Regions from separate parts of the Homo sapiens genome. Here all the other regions are linked to region 5. Evidence: promoter capture Hi-C in 16 types of primary human blood cells and fetal thymus (Javierre and others, 2016). All regions are on one chromosome and are shown on one strand. The core of a region is centred on a gene start or on the middle of the fragment in contact, and the rest is flanking DNA. Distances in the headings are between cores, read along the strand shown. Region 1 has its middle 280 kb from the start of USP25. Region 2 overlaps LOC101927745 (a long non-coding RNA gene). Region 3 overlaps LOC105369302 (a long non-coding RNA gene). Region 4 has its middle 260 kb from the start of USP25. Region 5 holds the start of NRIP1 (nuclear receptor interacting protein 1). Region 6 has its middle 210 kb from the start of USP25.

Region 1 (4,881 bases), core at 1,161-3,660, 380 kb after region 5:
CTGCCTGCACCTGCTCATTGTCCATTTGAATTGCTTCTCTGCTGGAGGTATTCCTGGGGCCCACTCTGGCCTACTGCCTTTGGGCTTCACCTGACCTAGCTCTGCATTTACAAAGCAAGCCCAACAGATTTCCACCATACATTTCAAACACCGAGAATGACACTGATTTTGAAACTCAGCTACACTGCATAGAGGAACTCCCTGAATACACCCAATCACCCAATTTAGGGAAGTACGAATTTTCTGACAATGTGAAAGGGAAATGACCTATTTTAAACTAAAGTATTGAAAATTTCTAATTATTCTCATTCCAAGGGAAAAAAATGAAAAAAAAAAAAATCCTAAAGAAAAAGAACAATTCCCTCCTATAACCTATCCCTTAAAGGAATGGACAATACTTGGGTAATGATGTTCAACTTATGCATAAGAAGACAAAAGGGCATTTTTTTCTGTATGGCTTCTTTGCCAGAGACCCTTTGGTAATGTGAGGTTTTTCTAAAGGCATAAGGGACGATTTCTCTATGTAGTTTTGCAAGGTCCCTTTCATTCCTTCTGACATCTTACTTTATCCTTTTCCTTTTTCTCTCCCTAAATGAAATGGATGTCTATGTACATATATATTTTCTGAAATACAAATGTAGAATGGCATGTAAGTACCATAAACCTGAGATTTAATTTAAATGCAATATGTAAGCAAGGCCTGTTAGGTCCTGGGTCCCAGTAAGAAATGGGATTCACCCTTAAAATGGTTTAAGTGAAGATATGTTAACGGTAGCACTCCAAAAAGGCATAGGCAGAGTTTTAGGAGCAAATAAATAATTTACCCAGGGACTAGCAACATTACAACCTCTTGGGCTGAAGGGACAATGAGAAGAAATAATGTTAACAGAACCCAGCGAGAACTGGAAGCACAGAGGAGGGGCCGCCCAGTTGGAGCTGTAGTTTTGGAGAAATGCAGCAGCTGCCCAAGACGTGGTGCTGAAGCCACAGGGCAGCAGAGAAGAAATACCCTGGCTTTACTTCCTTGCAACTCAGTCAGCTCCTGCCAGTACATCCTGTGGCAAAATATCAGCTGTAACCTGTCAGTAAAAAGATTCAGTGGGGTTAGCTTCCTGATACACAGCAGGGAAAACATGGGTTGCCAAGGAATTTGGTATGGAGACTAAGGAATAATTTGCACAAAATTTCCCATTTAAATATGAGAGAATTAGAGTGAATTCAATCATCGGGTTTATAACTAACTTTCAGGAATTTAAAAAATGTGGAAGGATGATGCTATGGATTGAAATATGTCCTCCCTAAATTCATATGTTGAAACTCCAATCCCCAGTATAAAACGCAGCAAGAAGGGGGCCATCAGCAGGCCAGGAAGAGAGCCCTCACAAAAAACGGAATCAGCCAGCACCTTGATCTCGGACTTCCCAGCCTCCAGCATCATGAAAAAATAAAGATTTGTTGTTTAAGTCACCCAGTCTATCATATTTTGTTATGGCAGCCCAAGCAAACCTATGCAGCCGGGTCAAGTATTTTATATATATATTATAGGAGAATACATGCTTTGAGTCATATAGAACAGGATATTAACACCAACTCTAAATTGCTATTTGTAGATTTGGGGAAACACTCCAAACTTCAGTTTTCTAAATTAAATAAGTACAGTATTTTCTTCATTATTGGGCTTTTTTTTTTTTTTTTTTTTTTTGAGATGGATTTTTGCTCTTGTTGCCCAGGCTGGAGTGCAATGGCACAATCTCGGCTCACTGCAACCTCTGCCTCCCGGGTTCAAGCGACTCTCCTGCCTCAGCCTCCCAACTAGCTGGGATTATGGGCATGAACCACCATGCCTTGCTAATTTTGTATTTTTAGTAGAGATGTGGTTTCTCCATGTTAGTCAGGCTGGTCTTGAACTCCCAATCTCAGGTCATCTGCCCGTCTCAGCCTCCTAAAGTGCTGGGATTACAGGGTGAGCCACCCTGCCCAGCATTATTATTGGGCTTTTTAAAAGCATCACATTTCTTCTTGTATATTTTCTTTTTTTAATGAAGTACAGTCTTTACAATAGCCTTTAGTGAAGATTTGCTCCTAAAAACTTAGCTTTTGTTTATCTGATGATGGCTTTATTTCAAGTAGTTTCACCTAGTATATAATTATTTGATAGTCATTTTCTCTTGACTCTTTGAAGACATTTTTCATCATCTTCTGGCTTCCATTGTAGCTGCTTTCATTCCTTTGTAGTTATTTCATATTTGCTTTGTTTTTGGTGAGCTGAAATTTCACTAAGGTGTGTTCAGGTGTGTGTTTTTTTTGTTGCTACCTACTTATATTTCACTGAGGTCTTCTGATGTAATCTAGTCTGCCACCAATATTGGGAAGCCTTTAGCCATTTTTTTTCCTATACTGACTTTTCTCCATTCTCTATATTCTCTTGTGAAATTCTAAGCAATAAGCCAGACCTTCTAACTTTACTGTAATGTCCCTTAACCTCTATTTCATGTTTTCCAAATATTTACCCATGTTATATTGAGTCATTTCTTCTGCTGTATTTTCCAGTTGTAAATTCTCTCCTCAGCTGTATCTGATACTCTACCATTGAGTTTTTAATCTCAATAATTATATTTTTTACTACTGTAAGTTCTGTTTTTAAAATTTTTTAGCAATTCTGCATGATCAGTCTCCACAGTCTTATGCCTTCCTCACACATTTGATGCCTTTCTTTTTTTCTTTTAAAATTTAAAAATTTTAGTAGAGACTTAAAAATTTTTAAATTTTAAAAGAAAAAAAGTAGAGATTTAAAAATTTAGTACAGATTTTAAAATTTTTAAATTTTAAAAGAAAAAACAGTATTCTTACTTTTTATATTCTAAATGCAGTAATTTCCATATCTGAGATCTTAATGCATCTGATTCTTTTCTTTGTATTCTTTGTTGTTTATCCTCTTTCTTGGTCTCAATATGTTATTTTCCATTGTGTTTTGTTATTTTTGTTGTTGTTGTGAGTTTAGGCTTGATGAAACTTTTTCTGTGAGGCTATTCTGAGTCTTAGATTGAGAGTGTATTCCTCCAAAAATATGTGTATTTTCTTATGGCATTCATCAACTAGCACTACCAGTCAGGGGGTGATATGAATTTGGAGCACAATCCCACATTAGGCCCCGTTTATACTGATACATTTCCAGTGGGTGTATTTTTTTGTTTTTAAAAATGAGGTAAAATTTACATAACATAAAACTAGCCATTTTAAACTGTACATTCAGTAGCATTTATTACCTTCACAATGTTGTGGAACCATCACCTCTATCTAGTTTAAAAATATTTTCATCACCCCAAAAGGAAATCCCAAACCCACTGATATGGTTTGGCTGTGTCCCCACCCAAATCTCATCTTGAATTGTCATTCCCATAATCCCCATGTGTCATGGAAGCCACCTGGTGGAAGGTAAATTAATCAGGGGAGAAGTTACCCTCATGCTGTTCTTGTCATAGTGAGTGAGTTCTGAGAAGATCTGATGGTTTTATAAGGGGCTTTCCCCACTTTTGCTTGGTACTTCTCCTTGCTGCTACCATGTGAAGAAGGACATGTTTGCTTCCCCTTCTGCCATGATTGTAAGTTTCCTGAGGCCTAGCCAACTGTAAAGAACTGAGCCAATTAAACATCTTTCCTTTATAAATAACCCAGTCTTGGGTATGTCTTTATTAGCAGCTTGAGAATGGACTAATACACACACTAAACAGTTACTTCCCATTACCCAACTACCTATACCCTGGCAAACACAGATGTGCTCTTTCTCTCTTTATAGACATACCTGTTCTATATATGTTATACAAATGGAATCACATAAAATGTGATGTCTGATTTCTAGCTTCTCTTATTTAATATACTTCCCAGGTTCATCCATGTTGTAGCATTATCAGTATTTTATTCCCTTGCATGGCTAAATTCCACTGTACACACATATTACATTTTGCTTGGCCATTCCATTGATTGACATTTGGGTTTTTTATATCTTTTCACTACTGTGAATAGTGATGCTGTGAACATTCATGTTCAAGTCTTTGTTTGAATATCTGTTTTCAGTACTTTTAGGTATACACCTAAGAATGGAACTGTGATCATGTAGTAAATCTATGTTTAACTTTTTAAGGAACCCCAAAACTGTTTTCCACTGTGGATTGTACCATTTTACATACCCATCAGCAATGTATGAGGGTTCCAATCTCTCCACATCCTTGTCAACAGAGGTTATTTTCCATTTTATTTTGTTTATGTATAGCCATTCTAGCAGATGTGAAGTGGTATCTCATTGTGGTTTTGATTTGCATTTCCCTCATAAATAATGATGTTGAGAAACTTTCCACGTGCTTATTGGCCATCTGGATAACTTCTCTGGAGAAATATCCATTTAAGTTGTTTGCTTGTTTTTTTATTTATTTTAAGTTCTGGGATTCATGTGCAGGACCTGCAGGTTTGTTACATAGGTAAATGTGTGCCATGGTGGTTTGCTCCACCTATCAACCCATCACCCAGATATTAAGCCCAGCATGTATTAGATATTTTTCCTGATGCTCTCCCTCCCCCATCCCTCCTCAACAGGCCCCAGTGTATGTTGTTCTCTATATGTCCATGTGTTCTCATTGTTCAGCTCCCACTTATAAATGAGAACATGTGGTGCTTCGGTGCTTGGTTTTCTGTTCCTGCATTAGCTTGCTGAAGATAATGGCTTCCAGCTCCATCTATGTCCCTGCAAAGGACATGGTCTCCCTCCTTTTTATGGCTGCATAGTATTCCATGGTGTATATGTACAACATTTTCTTTATCCAGTCTATCATTGACATACATTTGGGTTGATTCCATGTCTTTGCTATTGTGAATAGTGCTGCAATG
Region 2 (4,368 bases), core at 572-3,071, 360 kb after region 5:
TTTCTGATCTTCTCGTTTCTCCTCCTCACCAAGGACAGATAGATAGAAAGTATATCTATTACAGAGAGAGCTTCTCTCTGGAAGTTCTCTAGTATGGCTGTAGAAACTTCTTCCAAAAGAAACGCAATTATCTTAAAACCCCCTCCCTAGGAATCTCATCAAATAAGCAAAGAAGATTAAGCGCAGAGAAAAGACAATGCTGTCACCATGCCCATGCCAAACACTTTTCATCTATTCTTCTGAGACTAGCTCTGAGAAGTTACCTGGGAGATTTTACCTATGTAAGAAGACAACCTTTGCTCACTGTGGAGTTCTGTCCCTCACTTTTCTGCAATTTGTTGGAACATCCTTCAGAGATCAGAGAAGCTTTGTTCTAGGACATTGGCTGTTCTTGGGACTCATTCAATCTCCCTGAAAGTCACTTACTACCCCTTAAAATTACCTACATTTCTCATTTCTCTCTTCCCTATGAAGAGAGTATTTAAGCTTCAACCACCTTGCCCTTCTTTGAGTTTCATATTTTGTATGGTTCCCGTAAACACTTACATGTTAATAAATTTGTGTGCTTTTCCTCTTGTAAATCCATTGTCAGTTTATTTTAGCAGACTTGAAACTTCAGAGGGGGAGGAAAAAATTCCCATCATCCCTACAACTTCGTTTGAAATGAAAAGACATCTCTAAGATTTGGTAGTTTTTTAAGCTGGGTAATGGTATAGGGCAGCTCTATCTTTACGATGTTAAAATTTTGCTAGTTAAAAAAACAAAAAACTAAATGGTACATTCTTGAAGTAGATGCAGGCCCACCCCATAGGCAAAAGACTTGTGAACAGATGATGGGCATGTGCAGATTTGAATGGTATCGCTTCTTCCTGGGGGACATAATACCATTTGCCAGGACACATGAGTTGGTAAGCAGAGTGTGAGCAGAATTTCAGTCTTCTCTTAATCCCTTGGCGGAGTAATCTCAAAGTCCCTGTTTTGGGTCCGTGATTCATGCCCTCCTGAGCCTGACCGTGGAAGGATCAGAAAGCATAGCCAGCGAGTAAGCAACAACGGGGATGTATCTGCCCATTCCCTTCCTGCTACGAGCTTTCGGACATAACACAGAATTGAGCTGTCAGAGAAGAGGAGGACTAAATAGGCATGGGTCTGGAGTTCTGATTATGACTCTGTACTAGATATTTCAGTTGATAAAATGAGATCTTATTTGTAACTCAGAGTGACTGGATGAATTTTTATTGTGTGAATTCTTGAGATTTAATCCAAGCAGTAGGAAAAGACGAGTTTGCAGGCAGGTTTAAGTGGGCAAATGGGCACTGAACACAAAATCAAAGTTATTTTCTGTGTCTAGCTGGTGCATTAAAATAATTGTGAAATGATTCTATTATGTTAATGAAAGTGTATCTATTACTATCAGTTAGATCGAAAACAGATAAATCAGACACTGTCTATTACTGTATCTGCTAGACATTATGCCTTAATACTTCAATATTAGCCAGAGTAATAGTTCCACAATCCCACATGCCTAGAGAGCAATTCAGAAGAGGCTACAAAAATTTAACATGATAAATAGTGAATGTCAAATAATTTTGTAATGGTATCAAATCACTTTGACAGACTTAACTTTATTTTGAGTTTATCTCAATCTAGTTTCACTTAAGTTGAAAAGTAGTTTGTTTTCTACATTGGGATGTTTCAAATACATATATACATGCATTTTTAGAATACCTGTAGTTTCAAAAATACCTCAGAAACGGAATGAGCTTTGGAATTTCCATCACCTTCTGACAATGGTGCATAGAACCCTGTATGGTTTTCGTTTTTCTAATACTCTTTATTGAAATATAATTTACATACCATAAAATTTAGCAAATTGAATGGGTTTAATGAATTCTGAGAGTTCTGTAACCATCTTCATCATCTTGGTTTAGAACATTTCATCACTCCCCCAAATAATCCCCTCTTTATTAACAGTTAATCTGATTTTCCCTCTTCCACCCCGCCAGCCCTAGTTATCCCAATCAACATTCTGTCACTATAGATATGCCTCTTACGAACTTTCATATAAATTGAATCACACAATATGTAATCTTTGGTAATTTGTTCCTTTCACTTAGCTTGATGTTTTCAAGGTTCGGCCTTGTTATAGCATGTGTCGGTACTTCATTCTTTTTAAGTGCCAAATAATATTCTGCTGTGTGGGTATACCCTATTTTCATCAGTTGATGGACGTTTGCGCTATTTCCATATTGTGGCTATTATGAATATGCTGCTATAACATTTTTCACATGTTTATTGTGTGGATGTATATTTTCATTTCTCTCGGGCATATACCCAGAAGTGAAATTTCTAGGTCATAGTGGAGTTAAACAAGATACCTCTATGCCTCCATGTGTAACCTTATGAGGTACATCCAAACTGTTTTCCAAAGTGGCTGTACCATTTTCCATTTCTTCCAGCAATGTGTGAGGGTTTCAATTTTTCTATATCCTCAACAATAGTTGTTATTGTTCTTTTCTTTCTTTCTTTTTAAAATATAGCCATCCTAGTAGGTGTAGAGTGGTTCCTCATATACTTTTAATTTTCACAGTTTTTTTTTTGAGACAGAGTCTCGCTCTGTCACCCAGGCTGGAGTGCAATGGCACAATTTCAGCTTACTGCAACCTCCACCTCTCGGGTTCAAGTGATTCATTCTCCTGCCTCAGCCTGCTGAGTAGCTGGGATTACAGGTTCATGCCACCACACCTGGCTAATTTTTTATATTTTTGGTAGAGACGAGATTTCACCATGTTGGACAGGCTGGTCTTGAACTCCTGACCTCAAGTGATCCACCTGCCTCAGCCTCCCAAAATGCTGGGATTACAGGTGTGAGCCACCATGCCTGGCCAATTTTCACATTCTTAATGACTAACAATGTTGAGCATTTTTTAAATGTTCTGGTTGGCCATTTCTATATTTTCTTTGGAGAAATGTTTATTCAAATCCTTTGTCCATTTGAAAATTGAATTATTTGGCATTTTATTATTGAGTTGTAGGAGTTATTATAACAGTTATAACAATCTATATATCAATCTCTTATACACATATTATTTACAAATATTTTCTCCATTCTATGGGTTGTCATTTCACTTTCTTGATAGTATCATTTGCAACACAAAAGCTTTTACTTTCAATGTAGTTCAGTTTATCTTTTGTTGCTTATTCCTATAAAGGCAGGGGGATGCTGGAGATGTTCAATGCTAAATAAAATGTAGTTTATGACCTAAATGCATGTATATGACAAGAGATGCCATCACTGGTATGATAAAACCATAAAGAATATTCTGTGCAGAGTTGATCATTTCTTTTAAGGCCAGTTTTCCCACCTTCTTGGCTTGGCTAACACTATACCTCTTTCAAGTTTCAGATGAGACAGAATTTTTCTAGAAAGCCCTATGTGCTTTCTCTCACCATCTCATAATGTCATCTTGAAGTAGTATCATTACTAACCCAATCTTAACAGATGAGGAAGCTGAGGCTCAAAAATGGCAAAAAATTTTCCCAAATTTATACAAGCAATTTATTGTGGGGTGAATATTTCAAACCAAGTCTATCTTCAAAGCCAGTGAAGATTTTGGTCTTATTTACTATCTTGGTAATGGGTTTATAACCAGGTGATTATTTCTGAAAGGAGATGATAACCCTTTAAACTGTACATCACATATCATTTCAGCTGCAAAAAATTAAAAATGTGATTATTCAAGTTCATAAATTATATTTTACGCATAATCAATTTAACGGTAGAAGCTTTTCAGGAGGCTCATTGGGAAATCATAATGAAAGTGAGACAAGAATTGTCTTTTGGTCTACGTATATTCTGAATGAGTGCCCCAAAGAAGAGAGCTTCACCTTGCAACTCTCACCACTCTTCTCAGAGGGTGTGTGTCAGAGAATTAAGTATACTGAGGTTGCACATTGACACAACACACTTTGAAGAGGATGGTGACTTTTATTATAGATAAGAGGCAAATATTGGGAAATAGAAACATGTCTCTGAAAGTGAAATTCAAAGGCAAAAGAAGATTGTATATTAACTGTACTTATATTTGAAAATATAAAGCATGAAATATATAAAAATATAAAAGATATGTCATAATTTTTAAAGATATGAATATAGCTGTATGAATATCATAAGCAAGAAAAGAAGTTCTATTTGTGAGTCGACCCTCTCAAAATGAGATTGATGATGAATGCCATGTTACTTCAATTGTTAAGTATTCTTCTGCTATGTCATAATGATAAAAATGTCACAACCATTTAATTATTAATTTCTCATACGATGGGTAAGTTAGATTCAGAAAATGAACTCTTGTGCAATATGAACTCATT
Region 3 (4,831 bases), core at 997-3,496, 470 kb after region 5:
ATACTGTTAGCAGATGCTGGTGATTGTTAACTGTGACACAGTGAAGCTTGTTTCACAAGTGTTTAAAAAACTGTTAACTGAATTCAGCTACTGCATACAGAATTACTACTCCTGCCTGGGTGAAGAAGCGCTGCCAAAATGATGCTTACAGGAACTGCAAACGGACAGGAAGTCAACAAGGAGTAAATAAGAAAGACCAGGTTCCTTCTTTCTCCTCCAGTCCTAGTCTCCGTCTTGTGCCCCCTTTTGGCAGAGCATAACAGGAAATCAGGGGGCAAAGCAGAAATAAGGTTTGCAGAGTTCCAGCTTCAGGATCATGAAGCAATTATAGAAATGTGGTTTGAGCTGAGAGACAATAGCTGAGTAAGTGGCACAACCATACACCGAAAAGTCTTCTGAAATAACTGAAAATTGATTCATGATTAATTACACTACGGTATAGCTAAACTGCTTATGTAGTTTTGTAACTTACTAAGAAGTTGTATAATTCAGCATAGTCTCATAGTTTTAACAAAGAGAAAGAGATAAGCATTCAGTTTCCACTCCCTGTTCATTATGGAATACAAGGAGATACACTGTGCATCTGAATGTCCACTTTGATTCCTGTGTGAGAAATATCGAACCAGCTTGTGGCTTCCAAGAATAAAATTAGTAAAATAAATGGACAAACATGTAAAAGACACAAAATTAAAGCATTCTTATCCTCCAAATCAGACCAAATAAACCTTATCTCAAATGATATTTCTAAACAGTATACCCACTTCTAATCCCCCTCTACCTCCTGACACATACTTAATAACAACTAGAATTTCTAACTTCCACATACACCAAAAAAAATTTATTACCATAATTTATAATAATAAATAATTAAGAACATCTACCTATTGACTTTCTTATCGTGTGTTCACCACTTTAAAAAATGAATCAACTTTCAATTATCTATTTCTTTTTGCTACATGATAAGTGACTAGAATGTAATCAGTTTTTTAATTTTTATTTTAGGCTCAGGGGTACATGTGTGCAGGTTTGTTATATAGTTAAACGCATGTCACAGAGATTTGTTGTACAGATTATTTCATCACCCAGGTACTATGCCTAGTATCCAATAGTTATTTTTTCTGATCTTGTCCCTCCTTTCACCCTCCCTGCTCAGTTAAGCCCCAGTATCTGTTGTTTTTCTCTTCACCAAAAGGTTTTTAAAACCTGGTTTTGGCCAGCGTGTAAAATCATGTGCTACCACATCTTGTTGAAAATTTAATTCACATTTCCATGCAGGACAGAAGTTTGGTTTTATGCACCATTTATGCTCTAAAATATGCTCTATCCTTCCTATAGAAAATGCATTCCTAGAAATTATCTCTAGGGAGATAGTTACATCCATATAAAATAGATTTAGCTGGAGATTATTTTATCAGGTTTTTTAAAATAAAGCAGATGAACATAAACCTAAAAGTTTTGCATAGAATCCTGGTTAAATAAATTACACAAGTAATGAAACACTATGCAGTCAGTAAACATGACTGGTTAGACATACCTTTTATTAACATAGAGCAAGCTATAAAACATTCATTCATTCAAAAAATATATACTGAGTATCTGCATTGGCCAATGTACCAAAGAGTGACAGAAGAAAAAAAAGTCCCTATTGATGTAAAACTTCACATATGTTCATATGAACACACACACATACACACACACACAGATGTCTGGTGGGACCTTCTCAAAAATATTGAGTCATTCGCTAAAAAATAAAGTGGTTTTCTCCCAGTGGGGGACTATAGCTGATTTTTACTTCAGTCTTTTATGTCATGTATTCGCATGAATTTATTTTACAAAAATAATATAGCCACTTAAAAAAATCCTATACCTATTCAAAATCGAAGGCAAAGACTATTACTACCACTAAACCTTACCAGGGTTACTGGCTGAATGTGATTTCCTTTCTCTCAGAATTGCTTTATCATTTGGTGAGTATCATTTTGGGGAATTCAGAATACATTGGATTCTGAATTATAATTAGTTTTGAATTTGTCTTTCCTTGAGGATAGTGACACTGTCTTGTGTAACTTTTTGTCACCTATAACATGTAAAGTAGAGCTTAGATGCTTTCGGTGTGTGCTCAATAAATAATGTGTTATATTTCTAATTTCACTCACCATCAAATTGTACTGGGCATTAGTCAGGGTAACTGCTTTGCCCATAGAGTTTATAGGTTATCATGTGCTACTTATAGCCCATGTTGAAGAGCAGCCTTAAAGAGCTATGTTTTGTAATATGTAACCCCAATCTCCAGACACAGCTGATTGTATTGAGGGTGAATACTTGACTCAAAGGCAGCCAATCCAAAACCTGGCCAGAGCATGACCTGGAATGCAAATGTGATCATAGGCTACTCATAAGAGAAAAAAAATCAAACTGGCTAATAAACCTGTAAAGCCTTTTCTGCTTTATTAACAGTGAAAATGCAAGCTAAAAAAGAGACAGACATGATTTTATTCCCATTGGATTGTTGAAAATTAGGAGTGACAAGTCTCATATTATTGAAAATAAGAAGGGTGATAATATCTCATATTGAAAAGAATGAAGGGAAATGGTCACCTCCACGCCCCATGGGTGGGAATACAAAAATTATTAAGGCAATTTGACAGCATCTACCAGCATTTACATTATGCTCATCACCTTTTAACCCAGTTAGTCTACTCCAGGAAGACAACTTGCAAAAATAGCCACAGGTGCACAAAGATGAGGCAAGGATTTTCATTGTAATATTCAAAAGAGATACATTTCCATCATTAGGGTGAAGTAGGCTATGTTATTTTCATTCATTAGAAGAAAGGCAGAGATTCAATAGAAATAAAATCAAACCCAACATCCTTACTTTGAACCGCAGTCCTATATAATTTGGTCCCTGCATTTCTGAACTCATCTCTTCTCTCCTTCCCCACCACTCACCTGCTTCAGAACTCACTGGCATTTGCACTTGCTCATTCCTCTGCTCGTTTCATATCTCCAGCCATTCTCAGGGCTGATTCCTTCTCTCCAGCATCTCTGGTTAAATGTTACCCCCAGGGAGAAATTTCCTCATCAACCTGGCCTCAAACCTCTCTATATTTTCTCTCTTCTTATTTTCTTTGTCTAATTTACCTTCTCTTGACATTATATTAAATATTAAGCCACATTTTTTATTGTCCATATCTTTCACTAGAATCAAAACTTTTATGGGCAAGCAATTTATCTATTATTTATCACTAAATCCCCAATGCCTAGAGTGATGTCTTGTAAAGAATAAATGTATGTTTGATAAATTCATTTATTCTACAAAAGTATATGATAGAACTGTGTATTTTAACATAGAAAAATATCTAAGATCTATTGGTGTTGCCAAAAAAGACACAAATGATATGTTCACTTTTATGTTAAGAATACGTGAGTATTTATATATAGGGGTGTGTATGTGTTTAACACATACATGCATGTAATTATCTAGATAGAGAACTAAAATTATATATATCAAGTTGTAATCTCTGCCAAGGATAGTGTCTATGGGAAGTAAGAAAATGAAACTTTGACATTGTACTCTACATATTTCTGTATCCATTTAATGTTTTTACAAGAATAGATTTATATACTTCTCATGAAAGGAAAACAAAGAAAGAAAAGTAACTACTAATAATGACAAATGACATTTAAAGCTCTTGTAATAGGCAATACTTTGAGCATTACAGATGTATTAACTCATTTAATCATCACAACAGCCCTAGAGGATATATTATTATTATTAATGTTAATATTACTATTTCAATTAGAGAAGAAGCTAAAGCATAGAAGAGCTAAGTAGCTTACTCAACATTGCACAGTGTCCAGGTAGCAAAACCAAAGAAGGAAATAAAGGAGGAAAGAATGAAAAGGAGGTAGGAAAGGATGAAGGAAAGAAGAAAGGATTCATTAATCAGTTAATTTATCAGACTGAATATGGCAAATGAAAAGTGGTTAAAGTTGTGAATGCCTACTATGCAAAATTGCAGGTTATTTGAAAGAGAATGAAATGTAAGGAAGATTTTCAGCTCCTGTCCTGGGGTGCACAGCTCTTCCAGAATTCCCAAGATTCCTTGACCAGATGGTTCAGTTTTTCTTGATTCCCACACACGTGTCCTGAGAGAAACCCTGCGGCGCACAATGACTTGAGTGAGGCTCTCTTCTTTGCCTCAATACCTTAAAGTAGAATGGATGTTTTTGACCTGCAGAAATAATGCCATGTGTTAGAAAAGGTTACTTATTTCCCAAGTCTGTTAAAGAGGAGAAATTATCAAAGGAAACTTAATATTGGTCAGCAAAACAGGGACAGTTTCGAAATTTTCAAGAGATCATCAAAACAATCTGTGTGCGTGTGTGCACATGTGTGTGTTTAACTATGCACTGATGCTTTTTTTGCCTTTCTTTCTTTTGTAAGCTTACCTGATTGGTCATTCGCTTTTTAAAATCCTGCAGTCAAGTATAACCGAATTGGGTGAATATAAGGGCGCAAAGAAACAAGAACAATGCAGGAGAAGACATGAGAACAGATGTGCCTCATGTTAAATTAAAACGCTCCTTTCTTCTGAACTTTCTTACTAAAATTCTGCAATTTGTGTAAGACGGATTCCATTTAGCACTGCTTTTCATTTTCCTTAGAGCTTCTCCATGTGATGAAAGAGAGATTGTGGGTGAACATCTGAGATAAGCATGGCATTAGGTCTCCTTCTATCTCTTTATTTATTAAAAGAATGGATCATTTATTTCTTTAAGACTAATATAGGTTTGTATCTGTAATTCATTTATCAACTTTAACATT
Region 4 (5,113 bases), core at 832-3,331, 400 kb after region 5:
AAAATGCCAGAGTTCTGCTATTTTAAAAGTAAATATGAAGCAAAATGCACGAGACACTTTGTAAAGTTTAGGTCCATGATTTGAGAACACTCAAATAGCATAGACATGCTGGTGAGAACTTCAGTGATAGATACTACTGTTCACTGTACAGTACATCTCAGATGGTCTCTGAATTGCAGGGAAGAAGTGGTTGCTGGGAAGCTTAGTGTCTTCATCCATTTTGTGTTGCTATAACAGAGTACCTGAGTCTGGATAATTTATAACGAAAACAGGTTTAGTTAGTTCACAGTTTTGCAGGCTGAGAAGTTCAAAAGCATGGCCCTGGCTTCTAGTGAGGGTTTTGGTGCTAAATCATAACATGGTGTAGGTCAAAGTGGAAGCAAACACGTGCAAAGAAGGAAAACCCAAGGGACATCTTTGCTTTTTCAGCAACCCACTCTCACAGGAACTAATTCATTCCCACAGGAACTAATCCAGTCTGGCCAAAGCAAGAACTCATTCACTAACGTGAGAACAGCACCAAACCATTCATGAGAAATTTGCCCCCGTGACCAAAACACCACCCATAAGGTTTCACCTCCCAACACTGCCACATTAGGGATGAAATTTCAACATGAGTTTTGGCGAAGACAAACTCAAACAACAGCAAAAAGTCCTGTTGTAGATCTACCTATTTTGTCTTTCTTTATTTCAAATTGAAAGCTATATAATTATATTTATATATATTTTAAAATATTATTTTAAATAATAATAAAAATAAAATATATTTTAAAATATTAGTTTTAAAATAGTAATTTGATGTTACTCCAATATAACGCCAGAATTTTCCAAATAAAGCAATGGGTTACCTTTGTAACATTTTTGAACTGCATTTTTTTTGTTTAAAATAATTGTTTCTACTATGTTTCAATCCATGCGAATACATATCTTTTATTTAACACTTATAGGACATTTTGTTTAATTTAGTCATTTTATCTTTCATTGATGATGAACTTACATGAAACCTGTGTAGTATTGGCCAAACTTTATTTTTAGGTGATATCAGGTTATAGCACTTTTTCTTTACCAAGAATGGAGGAAAATAAGTAGTACCTGTTTTTCAGAGGAAAGATAAATGTATGCAAAATATCAGTGTCATGGATGCAAGATCTCTGTTTATTAGCTATCAGGTAACTTAAGAGGTTAGAGACTGAAGAGAAAGCCATCCTCTACATATGGCTTTGGGAATTTGGCAAGAGGTGAAAGGAACATTATAAGATTAAGGCCTGCAGAGTAACTTAACATGCCTTATGATATGTAGAAGAAAATGCAGAAAGATAGGAACATGTGAGTGATGTAGTCCAGGATTTACCACAAGAAGCAGGAATCAACTGCTCACATGTATGTCTCTTTAATTGCCAGATATCTTAGTGTCTAATAGCAATTACATCCCAAAAGAACTACAATGACATTTATTGGGTAACCACTATGCCAGGCCAGATATTTTTGCATATGTTACCTCATTTAAGCCTCACAAATCCTCAGGTATCACTATCCTTTTGTTCAGATACTGGAACTGGAGATCAGAGCATTTAAGGGATTTCTGTACAGTCTGAAAAGTAAGGATCAGAGGTCAAATTCTAATCCAGGACAAACCGTTAACTATGCCTTCTTTGACTTTAAGATAAGAGAATAACTCAGAATTTTATACATTTAATAGGCAGAAAAACTCTAAATTCTCCAATTCTATACAGGTATTTCCTAAAAAGCAGCATAATCATTGTCATCATGGGGAAGAAATGTAGATCAATCATCTCAATGCACTTGGCTTAGTGCTAGCAGTAGCTTTAAAGGAATTAATAGATAAATTCCCTTGACTACGATTTTAGAATCATTAAAAAAGCATTGAGAAAAGTTATTTTCTAGGTAACTTTCCCCATGATTTTGAAACTTAACCTTTATTGGAACCTTCCAAATCTTTCTGTTCAAATCCTTATGATTTAGATTATGAACTTAAGTTGGAAATAACTTTTCCTTATAAAATCATAATGGTTCTATCTATCTATACACACATACGTATTTGACCTCAATTTAATTGTCTTTGAATGAGATTCTGCATTCATGTTAAGATATTTCATTTATTTAAACTAGATTATTCCATTACCAAACATGCCTTCTGTTTAAACTGTTTGAATCACAGCCAAGTAAGAAGCAAATCCTATTCAACTGAACTGAGCCTCTCTGGCCAGCCTTGTGAGTAAGGAGAAAAGAAGTAAAAGAGGGAGGAGAAGAGTTTGATTATGGTGATTTGGTACCTGGAAAAGATGGGGTAAAATCATCAGGTTTTGTAAATAAAAATACAGAACACTTGAATACATTTGAACTTCAGATAAAACAAGGCACAGTTTTTTGTACAAGGATGTCTCAAATACTGCATGAGACATACTTATATTTTAAAATCACCCATTGTTTATTTAAATTCATATTTAACTGGGTGTCCTATATTTTATCTGGTAACCCTAGATGAAGGATCACACAGGACAAATATAACTAGCATTGGGTTCCAATTGCCACATGTCTTTTATGCACAGATTGGCAGGCTTCTCCTGGGGGAAAGTAGAGGCTTAAAATTGAGGCTGCTTTTGCTCACTGCTTAATAGTGACAAGCTATTGATAGCCAGGCATTGCCAAATTCTCATTAGTTTCTAAAAGTCAGGAACTACATTTAGAAAAAAGCGGCTCGCTTATGGAGAGGTCATCTCTCCAGTAACCTCAAGTACCAGGAACACAGCTGAAACCCAGGAAGCAAGGGAAAAAAAGGCCTCTGAGGATTCAAAATAGAAACCATGTGCTAAAGCTCATGCTCTTTTCTCTGAGAAGAGGCCCTCAGACTTGCACTCAGTGTAATTTGCTCTTCTTTCAGACACCATCCAAACAAGTTTGGTTGTCTGATTTCCCACCCAACAGAGATAGAAAGCAGGAAATTGCAAAGTGGGCAGGATGGCTATGTAGACTAGGGGTCAGCCTTGTGGCAGACGATCTGGTAAAAACACATGCACACATATACACACACAAACACACACATGCACTCCACTATATGCAGCAATTCCCATAAAAATTTGGAAGAAATGTACCAAAATGGAATTTGTGGTTATTTTTTAGTAATGAGCTTACAAGTGGTCTTATTTTCTTCTTACACTTTTTAAATATTAGCTAAACTTTTTACATGCATGTTTATGATCAGAAGAGGCAACACAGATATTTTCAATTAAAGAAAATTTAAAAATTATTTCTTGATTCTCTCAGGAGAGCTCTGTTCACACCTCTATTAGAAGCATTTCCCAAATGGTAATTATATGCCAGACATTTATTTGTCTTTGTCCTCTGCTGACTTGTAAACTTTTTGAGAGCAGAGTTAGTACCTTTGTAGCATTGTAGCCTTAGTTATCAGCATAATCTCTAGCACACCAATGCCCAATAAATATTTGTTGAGTATGGAATGAAAGTCAAAATGCATGGTGTTTCTATGGGCATCTAGACATGGAATTCTCCACACCTCTGTCTCCCAGGAGCAGTGCGCCACTGTGGTCTGCTTTGCCCTTTGACTAGGATAAAAGTCTACTCTAAGTCCACAATACAAATTAGAATTAAGATTGCATTCTCTGTTTTTAAAAGCACAGAGGAATATGATTTATTCTGGCAAAGTGTCTTTTGAAATGGTTAGCATCTTTTAAAGTTTTGGCTTAAAGGAATGAGTATAAGAAATTTTGAGAATTCTCTTACTTTTAGTCATTTATTTGAAAATCTGGCTGTATCTGTTAATTGAGGATCATGGGCTAAAGATATGGGACACGGCTCTCAGAGTTGCACTACAGAGGTAAAATGCAATCTGTAAAATATTGGCTGTAGAATAAGACCATGTACAAGTTCTAGAGGAAGAAATGAGAGACCCCTATATGTATTACTTTATATGGCATCTTTATAAAGCTTTAAGGCATGTGCATCTTTGCAAATAAATAAAAATGTGAAAAACACCAAAGCTCTACTTTCCTTGTAACCAATTTCCTTAAAGACCCCCCCTTCTCAGTGCTACATAGAAGGATTGAATATGGTCTTAAGTTCTACTCTTTTTCAACACAAACGAAGATTAAACCAATTCATTCAGAAGAAAGAGAAATGACTGGATTCCATTTACAAGTAGAAAAGGAGTAGAATTTTAGGTCAGGTGCAGTGGCTCATGCCTGTAATCCCAGCACTTTAAGAGGCCGAGGCAGGTGGATCGCGAGGTCAGGAGTTCGAGACCAGCCTGGCCAATATGGTGAAACCCCATCTCTACTAAAAATATAAAACTTAGCTGGGCGTGGTGGTGTGCACCTGTAATCCCAGCTACTCGGGAGGCTGAGGCAGGAGAATTGCTTGAACCCAGGAGGCAGAGGTTGCAATGAGCTGAGATCATGCCACTGCACTTTAGCCTGAGCAATAGAGCAAGACTCTGTAAAAAAGTAAATAAATAAAAAATAAAAAACATAAAAAAAATAAAAAAAACTATGACTATTTAATCAGAAAGAAATATATGAGTTGCTGAACAGTGGATATCATGGCAGAGATACGTGACAATACTGAATAGGATGATTCACCATCTGTTATTTATGTTTTATAAATGATTTCAAAGCACATTTTAGTAACTTGGACGGGATTCTCAAAGCGGGAAAACAGTGTTGCCTTTGCCCACAAATGCACCAGGGCCTGCCAGCAGAGCCCCTTAACCCTAAAAAGCAGCTACTCAAAATTAAAATGCACATGAGGACATTTTTCACTACAATCAACCTGGGTATCAGTATCGACGAACAGGGCTAAGCATTGGTAACTTAATGCAGAGATAAATTTGTACTTTACCCATTGAATTTGGTTCCTTTTCCACATCTGTAAAAAGTTAAATAGAATGGTAAAGTTACCTGATTTGTCTTTCATCTCGTTATTTCTCTACTCCTTGAAGGTAATGCCGAGGAAACACACACACACACACACACACACACACACACACACACAGAGAGAGAGAGAGAGAGAGAAAAAAAAGTAAGTCCAAAGCAGGCAGCAGGAAAAAGACAGAAAAAGTGACAAATAAATGATTAAT
Region 5 (4,908 bases), core at 2,087-4,586:
TTTTAACCTGATACACCAAACTATTACTGCTTTTCCCAAACAACAGTTAGAACATGAGCTTTTGAGTTTCTTACATTCTTTACGTTTTAAAATTAAAAGCCAAATTCCTTTAACCTCATATATCCTAAGCCACTCTGATTTAAAATTACTTCTATGTCATTGTCTTCTAGCATTGGTCTGCAATAGAATCTGTGCAATTAACAATAATCTTCTTCCCTCTGATCTTTCTAGAGTCAAGGATGGCATATCTCCTTATCTTATTTGTTCCATTAGATTGGCATATTTTGCCTCATCTGTCACCTTCTATCAAACTCTGCTTTCAGATATGCGTTAATTCATTTTTAGTTGTCCTCAATGTTCTAAAATAGTGATGTTTGACAGAATTAATACAGTGCTCTAGTTCTTTCTGTTCAACTGGTATTTAATTAAAGATCTTGGAGGCCATCTTTCTCTCAGGCTACACCACTTAAAGGAGGAACATTACTTCCTCCATGGACAATGTGATAAGCCACATGGCAACAAAGCTGCCTCCCTAAGGTCTCTCATTTAATAGACTGCTTTACCACATATAAACTACCAGCAAAACAGATTATCACTTTAATTCACATTGATTTTACTCTTCATATCTCTGAATCACAACTCTGTCATGGGCTGCGTTCTCTCTTAACTTCTGAATTTCCAGAATTTCTGTAGTTGTAATGCTCTCCTGTATTTTTGCTTTTGTTTCATCTGGACTTCAAAAAGTTCTAATGGCATCTGATTGGGAAGATTTCTTGAATCTCTGATAACAACGCAGAAGTCTTTAAGCAATCAGAACTGCCTTGGCGCACAAACTGAAAACTCCGTTTTAAAATCTTCTGAATTAACATCTTTTGGAGAATAGCCCACTCAACTTGATATGTCATAATTTTCAATTCTAAAGGTGGCACGGATAATTTAAAGTGGCACTTGCTATTTATTACTTAAATAATTGTTCTCTTGGACGGGCTTTTGAAAGCTAGTACTTCTTAATCATTTTCGACTATATCAGAACTGTAACAGACATGTCAATTTAAGCAAACTTCATGAGCAATAAACTAACAAACAGACTCTAGGTGGTGGTATAGGTTATTTTTTATCATGATGTTTTGCACTTATAACTGCAAGAGTCAGAAAAGCCTTTAGTCTCTTCACACACTTCTTTAGTGCAAAGTTAACAATATTTTAGGGTGTTAAAATTAGCAAAATCCAAGTTCTGCAGAGTTTAGAAATGCATGTAAAAGAGGCATTAAACCTGGTTTTCAACTAACTTCCCACAGGCATTAAACCTGGTTTTTCAACTAACTCATTTGAATAAAATCAACAACGAACAGTCCTTTTTTTTTTCTGTTATGTTCTGATGTATATTTTACTCACACTCCTAGGGCACTTTTAAAGGTAAGTTTGGAAAGAGGTCTTTCTCCACCAGAGTATGAAACAGACTAGAACAACCAATCCTACAACCTGCAGGGCAGTAGCCGCTCCACTAATTGATTCTCCTTCTTTGTCTCTAGGAACTATGCCCAGGCAGAAAAAAAGTTACTGTAGGTGATGAAGCCAGTGCTCCCTGAACCAAATAAACCCTATCGACGTTACCGAACTGCCGGGCAAAACCAGAGCAACTCACTTACTTGGAAGGTGAAAAACACTTCAACATACTCCAGGCGGCAACCGACACTTAGGGGCCAGGCAGATGAAACACCATTTGTTTAAAAAGTCTATTATTTCACTGTCTCTTCAACAAAGGTGGAAAACTGATGATTAAACACTGAATAATGCCACCCACTTACTAAACCTATGATTCACTAATAAGCAGGTTCAATGCAATTCATAACTTTAAAGAATGAATTACCGAAGCCCCTTGCTTCACAAATTCCCCCAAGAAACAGAAAGAGCATTCATCACATATAACCCGACAACCATTTTTACTATGGACACCTACAGATGGCTTCTCTTCCTCTAAGGACACAATTTCCTTCACAATCCCACATGTAATCATTTACAATACCAGAAACAAACTCCAACTCAGTTCCACCAACTGGGTTTTTAAAAATCCTTGTGCCTAAGAACGTCTTTTTTCCCCAAAGTAAAATGTGCCATTAAAAAATATTTTTAAAACGCAAAAGTGCTTATCATTCCGTACTTCTTTTACTACCTTCAGCAGCCAATTATTGACGTGATAAAAGGTAGAAACTCCTGGAATGCTTCAGAGATCAACATGTGTCACAGACTCCCAGCCTGTCCGCCTCTAAGACACAGTTGGTTCCTTTGTTCCTTCTGACTGAACACCAACTCCTGATCAAAATTGGGAAACTACTTTGGAAGGGATGGGAGGGTCTGCAGAATACATCCACGGAAACCTTCATAAAACAATATTCAATCGTAATAAGGTGGACACAGAAGAAGGGAGAAAAGGCAGCCTCCCGGACTTCCACCGGGCTCACCCTAAATGGGGGCCGGCCCCTGGCTCCTGGTAAAATGATGGCTGAGGCCTCGGGTCCGTGAGCCTCGCCATCGGGAGGGGACCGCGAGTGCGGGCAGAGCGGCCCGGGGTCGGGTGGGGGCCGGGCGAGCTGTCCCTTTTCCTATTCACTTTCCCAGCCGGGTATCCAGCGAGCAAGGAGCAGGGAGGCACCCAGGCGAAAGGCGCCGCCCAGGATCCGGCTGGACAGCAGGACGGAGAGCGGCGAGGCGAGCGGTGCCCGGGGTTCGGGACCGAGAGGGCAAGCGAGCGGGGGCAACCCCGACCCGGCCCCCCGAGTCCGGCCCCGCTCAGGGGCCACGCGACGGCCGCCCCCTTGCCCAGAACTGGCACGGACGGGCGGGCCGACCCGGGGCCACTCCACAACTTGCCGGCCCGCCGCCCCGGCCCCCCGCGAGAACCCGGAGACTCGAACCAGGCAGCAGAGGCAGGATTTCCCCGGAAACGCGCCCTCCCCGCCGCCCCGACGCCCCCGCGGCCCTGCCAGCCAAGCGAGAGCCGACGCGGGCCGCGCTCCCGGGCCGTTTCCGGCGGCGCCGGCGGCCGCTACTCCTGGCGCCCTGGCCGCGGCCGTCACTCACCCCAGGCCGCCGCGGCTCCCAGCCTCCGGCTCCGTCAGGCTCGGTCCGCGAAGGCGCCTGCCGCCCCGTCCTGGCCCGGCGCCCCGGCGAGCTCTTCCCTCCGACCAGCGGCGCTCACGGCGCAGCGGCGGACGCGAGGCCACGGGCGGACGGGCGCGCGCGGGTGGCGGGCGGGCGTGGGGCCGGGTCGTCCCTGCGCCTCGCCGCCGCCTCCTCCGCCGCCGCCTCCCGAGTTCGGGGCTCTGCTGCAATGTCTGCGAGGCTGACTTTGAGCGCCTCGCTCACCGCCCGCCCGCAGCCGCGCTCCTCCCTCCGCCGCCGAGTCCGCCGCGGCCCAGTCCCTCCCCTCGCCGCCCCACGCCATTCAGCTCTTCAGCCAAGTTTCTTAACCCTTTTCTCCCCCTCCCTCCCATTGTCACCCGGTCAGGAGGAAGCCGCGCGGATCCGGGCGGCTCACAGGAGCTGCGGAACCCCCTCTGTTTCGTGGATTTCCTTCTCGCCTGCTCTCCGGGTGTCCCAGACGGGGCTGCAAGACCCGGAGGCAGCGAGAGGACCGCGTCCCCGAGAGAGGGGCTGCACGGCGCGCCCGGGCCGTCCCCCGGGCTCCCAGCTCTGTCCAGCCGCCCGCGACCGCTGCAGGCGCCTGGACAGCTCCTCCTGGGGACCGGGGAAAGCGCTCTTGGGACCCAGGCCGAATGCTCCCGTTTGGGCACAGCCTGGGGGCCGGGGCGCCCCAGACGCTCCAGGGTCCCCGCCTGCCTTAAGCGTCTACCTCCTCCCCTTCACCCCACAACACGCGCTCTCTGGGCCCCCTTTCACCCACCCACCCCCAATTTCTATCTCCTTGTAATCTGTGTGTCCTGCTTTAATGTTGGGGGGCACGGGCGCGAACTCTGGGTCACTTTGACCCCACGCCCAGCACGTAGTAGGCGCCCAGCACTCGTGTGGAGCGACTCTGGGAGGAAAACTAGGAAGGAGACCTGAGGAGCGCCCCGCTCAGCTCCCTGGACAGACGTAGGACCCAGGAGCAGGGTTAATCCTCGGCTGCTTTGTCACTGCGAAGTCTCCAGCGGAGTCTGTCAGCCAATCTGCATCATCCCCGGGAAGGATCTGACCCAACAAGACAAGGGAAAAGGAGCAGGGCTGCTACTTCTTCAGCAGCTCTCCTCGGTTCGGTCTCCGAATAAGAAATAACAATTACATCACGAGGCCGGGGCGGCAGCGCGGTGGAGCCTCTCGGTTTCCTGCAGCCTAATCTCACTGAACCCGCCTCTAAATTGGGGGGGCCACAGATTGGTGAAACGAGAAAGTGGAAGGAGGAGAGAGTCATACGAAACCATAATTTCCCCTTATCCTTGTATTTGCTGTTTGAAAAATCGTATCCTCAACGCTCCCCAGACATCTCACTAGAACTATTAACACCCCCTCAACACCTCCCCAGATGTCAGGTTTCTTTTTGACTTGAGCATCTAGCATTTAGTAATTCGCCATGAAAAAAATTACCAGGGGAAGCGAGTGTTGTTGCTGAAATTGTTTTTGCTTGACACAAAAAAGCTAAAGTACAGCTTAGTCTCACCCGAAATTCTGAAACGGCATGCCCGTGTTAAAACACTTATTACATAAGACAAATGAGCCGATGAGGCACTCCATTCTTATATGTAGGTTTTCATATCCTGAAGAATTTGATAGCATTTGGAAATGAAGTTGCTAATGCGCTTAAAAAACAAAAACTATCCAAGTCATGAAACTGTATTCTGTGCCTGTTATGTAATGGCTGTATTGTGTATTGCAAATTTCACTTAACCTTTAAACAATATGAATGAGAGT
Region 6 (4,803 bases), core at 2,238-4,737, 460 kb after region 5:
TACCCATTATTCTCTGAAGTTCAGAAAAATTGCAAAATGCATAACTTCTGGTATGCTGGAAATTTATACACCTTCATCAAGGTGTTGGTTACATTAGTGTAAACTACGTAAATTTCCATCAAGCTATACAATTACAATTAATGTAAGCTATACTTTAATAAAAATATTAAAAAGAAATACACTCAGTGACAAACTGAGTAAACTAGAGAGGCTTTCATATACTGTGTAACAATATTTAAATCCTATTAAGGAGATAGCCTCTAGAAGCTTCTTCCTGAAATAATATGACTATTTAGTTAGACAGAAAAACAAATGAACTTCCACTAAAGTGGTAGGAAATTTTACTGACCGCACCTTGCTAAACAAAATGCAAGATAATTTTCTTTTCTAGTAGTCAATGTCCACAGCCCTCATAGAATAAGATAATGCAAAAGATGATTTTATTGACTATTCACTGCAATACCTAATTACATAAGTAGCTGCTCATTTAGAAAAATAATCCAACTAGTCATTCCCTTTTTTTCTGTGGGATTCGGCTGTTCTAATTCTTGGCCCAATGGACCAAGAAGGTGGTCATGAATCAACAAATTATTTTGCCTGCTTAAATTGCATGAATTTACAAATTGGTTATTCAGAATTAATGTGAAAAAATTTGGAGAGTGTGTTGGGTCAGTGTATAATGAGACATCTGTAGCTTTATGGTAGTGGGGGCAGAGTGGAGTGGGCTGATGGGCCTTTCTGTAGCCTTATGAGGCAGAAGTTACAGAGCATTCAAATACTTTCTCTAGTGAAAATGTATGGTGCCCAAGTTTAATATGTCCTACTGCTCTATTTTGGTAAACACTGCATGAGTCACTAAACCATAGAGAAAGATTTCAGAGAGGTTACATGGGTAGTGGCTATAGCTGACATAGGTTATCATGTCAAAGGATATTTCAGCCACAGCTAACATATAGAAGAGTCACACAAAAACATGCCTCTATAAATGAATATTTGCAGATCTGGTAGGGCTTGGGCACTGGAACTAACATATTCTAAACTGGGATAGCAATACTCTAACAGTAAGATGAAAAAAGTACAAACCTTTATCAAATTGTGTATCTTTTTGTATAGCTTCACTTAAAGAATATTAGTTATATACTCAGGATGTTCCAAGAGAATGAATTGAGAAGGAGCTATCTTGGAAATTTAAGAATAACGTTAATCCAAGTGACTTCTAGACCTATAAATAGTAAAAAATGCATCTCAACATAATATGCATCTGGAATTACCTATTGACTCTTCATTGATATTTCTGTGGGGTGGGGGGAGGGGGGAGGGATAGCATTAGGAGATATACCTAATGTAAACGACGAGTTAATGGGTGCAGCACACCAACATGGCACTTGTATACATATGTAACAAACCTGCACGTTGTGCACATGTACCCTAGAACTTAAAGTATAATAAAATATATATATATATATATATATATATATATAAAGAAACTTGGTTCCTCAGGCAGCAGAGATCAATGGAGACTTTCAGCACGGAAGTGGCCTATCAGGTCTGTCTTTTCAGAAGAACACTGTAATAGAACAGTGCACGCTGCTCACTTCCTTCATTGTAAACCCAAACCATGGTTCTTTAAGTTCAAGTGCAATAACTTTGGAATAACAAGGTATCAGTCATCTCAATTACCACCCATAGTACTATAAATGAGTGCCATCTTTCTGAAAAGCAGTTTGGTGCCTTAGATGTCTTCAAATATGCATGCCCTATTGTCCTGGAAATTCCACTTCTAGGACTCTATCCTGAGGAAATTATGAAAAAGGTACCAAATATTTACGTACAAGACAGCTCATTTTTAGCATTGTTCGTAAGAGTGAAAAGTTGAAAACCCAAAATATTCAATAAAAAGTAACTGGTTAAGTAAATTAAAAAAAAAAGAAATTTCTCATAAGCTGAATTATAGTGTCGAGAGTTACTAGGCTTCCTGATTTTTCTTATTAATAATTCTGGATATGAACAAACGAGGATAGAATAAAATTATGATCCTTTTGTAGTTTACACATACTGTCAGTTTAATGTATGTTGGAAATAAATTAGACTTACCTTTAGCACTTTTGCTTCTTGGAACAAGAAGAATAAATTAAAGATATTTTTTATTAGTCACTCCTTTATAGAACTGATGAGATATTAGAATACATAGGCATTGTTTTGTGCTAGAGAGAGGAATCAGGGCAGGATGACAGTCACTTACAGAGCTACAAGCCATTGCTGTATTACAGTGTGTTAGTCTGTTCTCATGTTGCTAATTAAGACATACTCAAGGCTGGATAATTTACAAAGGAAAGAGGTTTAATTGACTCACAGTTCAGGATGGCTGGAGAGGCCTCAGGAAACTTACAATCATGGCAGAAGGGGGAGCAAACATGTACTTATTCACATGGCAGCAGGAAGGAGAAGTGCCAAGCAAAAGAGGAAAAAGTCCCTTATAAAACCTATGAAACCATCAGCTCTCCTGGGAACTTACTGCCACAAGAACAGCAGCTTGGGGTAACTTCAACCATGATTCAATTACCTTTCACTGGGTCCTTCCCACAACACATTGGGTATTATGGAAACTACAATTCGAGGTGAGATTTGGGTGGGGACAAAGCCAAACCATATCATACAGTCACCTGAATACCTTGTTTTAAAGTAGTTGGTTAATGTTCTAGGCCACTGTGGCATCTAACTTACTGTGTGTGTGTGTGTGTGTGTGTGTGTGTGTGTGTGTGTGTGTGTGTGTTGTGTACATTTGTGTGTACTCTCTAGTTTTGTCTCTTGATCCCATCAAATAATCTCTCTTGAGTCCTACTGAATTTTTGTTGAAATATCTATACATTTCAAGGATTTTTCAACTATAAGCAGATTATATGGCAACTCTGAGGAGAATTAAATATGGGTTATACGCAGTGTTGGCATCTGAATTAATTCTCTTGAGCATTTATTTTTCATATAATATTGTGATAATAGCTTCTTAGTTTTTTTATTTCACATATGCTTATGTAAAGTTTAACAAGAATAGACAACAGTTGCTAACTTAGAACATCAGGTTATTAAAAACTGTAGTGTACAGTTTGAAATATTATTTTTCTTCAAGGCAGAAAAAGCTTTCTGGCGTAAACTCAAAAGCTGCATTTCCTTGCTTTTTGCCTTAAAGTAAAACTGACAGCTGGAGTTCAAGACCAGCCTAACCAAATGGTGAAATCCCATCCCTACTAAAAAATACAAAAATTAGCCGAGTACAGTGGCAGGTGCCTGTAATCCCAGTTACTCGGGAGGCTGAGGCAGGAGAATCGCTTGAATCTGGGAGGCGGAGGTTGCAGTGGGCCAAGATCCTGCCATTGCACTCCAGCATGGGTGACAGAGTAAGACTCTGTCTCAAAAAAAAAAAAAAAGAACAGACAGCCATGACTGAAGGAAATAATTATGGGAAAAGATGTAGAGGAAAATAAACCAAGAGAGAAGAGACATGTAATAACTATGAATTACCACTTTATATGGTCAGCATTTTTATTTGTGGATATAGTCTGACTATGTATTTTCTGTACATAAATAAGTACGGTCATAGTACATGCAAAATATTTATAAATTACTTGTCAGGTGCAAGTACTTATTTATATTTGATGTTTATTGCTCCTATCACCACACAATCGAGGCACTTTAAGGATATTAAAAACACAAGTTAGGTCTCACCGTATGTATAATAAATTTCACTTCATCAAAATAATCCTATGTCTGAAATATAGTTTTGATAGATTGAGTTTCTTTTCTAAGTAATGAATAAAGGTGGCCAGTAAAATATTGTTTACAAGCTTCCATGTTAAGATGGTGGGTCCAAAAATTTAATTTCTCTCCCATAAAATTTCACAAAACGAGCAAAAAAGAACAACAATGACAGCAATAAAACCCAATGAGAAAATGTTCAACAGCAACCACCAAACCAGAACAAGAGAATAACATACTGTAATTTAATAAGCCAGTCCAAAGAAAGCAACAAATGTTTCCAGAAGAAAAGGAAGAAGCTCCCAACCATGCCCTCATCCTGGAAAAGAGCCAGTCAATCCTCCCTAATGCCATATAAATGTTGGCATCTTTTTATTTTGATTGAACACGAGTGGAAAGTGCTCCAGGGGCGAAGTGGGTGAAGTTAGGGGAAATAAATTACAAGACATCTCTGATAGAAATAAAGCCCCCAGGGTTACCCAGAGAAAGAATCCTTCCCCAGAGTATCTGCCACTAGGTGGAGTGAACCCTGGAATAGGGCAGAGGAGACAGAAGAGCTCAGAGTTCTAATAAAGATTTCATGCCACTTCCTCTCAGCTCTCCTGTGTGCATGACTTCCTCCCCACCTCCAAAGTGGCTGAAATTTCCTCAAGCTACAGAAAATTGTCTACAGCATAAAACATTCAGCTTTTAGACTCTAGTTTGGAGGTGCAAAAGATGGGTTTCAGAAAATGCAAGAAAGCATCACCACACTGTCACAGGATCTTTGGGGTGTCACATTTCCAGCCAGTAAACTCTGTGGCCAGGGGCACCTTTGCCTGAGTTTTGCTCAGGCCCACTGGGCTCCTTCCACCCACTTGGCCTGGCAGGCTGCGCTTGGATCATGCTACCAACCTGGATCCTCCACCTGCCAAGTGTGAGCCAGGCATGGAGTGGTGAGGGGTGTGTGAGAGAGTGTGGGGTCTGGCCACTGTGCATAGCCAGATATTCTGGCTATGGTAGGGCAGGCAGCTCCAGGTACTGGCACGAGTGCCTGCTCACTGCAAGGCT

Evidence for each region. The method cuts DNA at HindIII sites, captures the fragments that hold promoters and counts their contacts. A CHiCAGO score of 5 or more calls a contact.
Region 1: a fragment that was not itself captured here is called in contact with the fragment with the promoter of NRIP1 in region 5 in 3 of 17 cell types (megakaryocytes, M2 macrophages and M0 macrophages); the score reaches 10.4 in megakaryocytes.
Region 2: a contact is called between a fragment that was not itself captured here and the fragment with the promoter of NRIP1 in region 5, in 1 of 17 cell types (M2 macrophages). The highest score is 6.9, in M2 macrophages.
Region 3: a contact is called between a fragment that was not itself captured here and the fragment with the promoter of NRIP1 in region 5, in 4 of 17 cell types (fetal thymus, total CD4 T cells, naive CD4 T cells and 1 more). The highest score is 8.4, in fetal thymus.
Region 4: a contact is called between a fragment that was not itself captured here and the fragment with the promoter of NRIP1 in region 5, in 6 of 17 cell types (M0 macrophages, M2 macrophages, non-activated CD4 T cells and 3 more). The highest score is 6.3, in M0 macrophages.
Region 6: a contact is called between a fragment that was not itself captured here and the fragment with the promoter of NRIP1 in region 5, in 7 of 17 cell types (naive CD4 T cells, total CD8 T cells, non-activated CD4 T cells and 4 more). The highest score is 6.9, in naive CD4 T cells.

What each region holds. Positions count from the first base shown.
Region 1 is chr21:15,445,416-15,450,296 of GRCh38, forward strand. No RefSeq gene overlaps it. Among named protein-coding and RNA genes, the nearest start is that of USP25, 280 kb to the right of the region's middle. RefSeq lists an enhancer at 1-282. The HindIII fragment of the contact is 7,816 bases long and covers 1-4,881 here.
Region 2 is chr21:15,425,379-15,429,746 of GRCh38, forward strand. All of the region lies in intron 2 of LOC101927745 (a long non-coding RNA gene), which reads right to left. LOC124905055 (a long non-coding RNA gene) reads left to right here. Exons shown (of 2, transcript XR_007067934.1): 2 at 151-581. Among named protein-coding and RNA genes, the nearest start is that of USP25, 300 kb to the right of the region's middle. The HindIII fragment of the contact is 2,674 bases long and covers 485-3,158 here.
Region 3 is chr21:15,534,573-15,539,403 of GRCh38, forward strand. The region is part of intron 2 of LOC105369302 (a long non-coding RNA gene); the gene reads right to left. Among named protein-coding and RNA genes, the nearest start is that of USP25, 190 kb to the right of the region's middle. The HindIII fragment of the contact is 4,404 bases long and covers 45-4,448 here.
Region 4 is chr21:15,465,790-15,470,902 of GRCh38, forward strand. No RefSeq gene overlaps it. Among named protein-coding and RNA genes, the nearest start is that of USP25, 260 kb to the right of the region's middle. The HindIII fragment of the contact is 3,765 bases long and covers 200-3,964 here.
Region 5 is chr21:15,061,664-15,066,571 of GRCh38, forward strand. NRIP1 (nuclear receptor interacting protein 1) reads right to left here and starts at 3,337. Exons shown (of 4, transcript NM_003489.4): 1 at 3,082-3,337. RefSeq lists enhancers at 1,689-1,738, 4,189-4,238 and silencers at 2,569-3,428, 3,679-3,858. The HindIII fragment of the contact is 10,218 bases long and covers 1-4,908 here.
Region 6 is chr21:15,516,720-15,521,522 of GRCh38, forward strand. No RefSeq gene overlaps it. Among named protein-coding and RNA genes, the nearest start is that of USP25, 210 kb to the right of the region's middle. The HindIII fragment of the contact is 705 bases long and covers 3,136-3,840 here.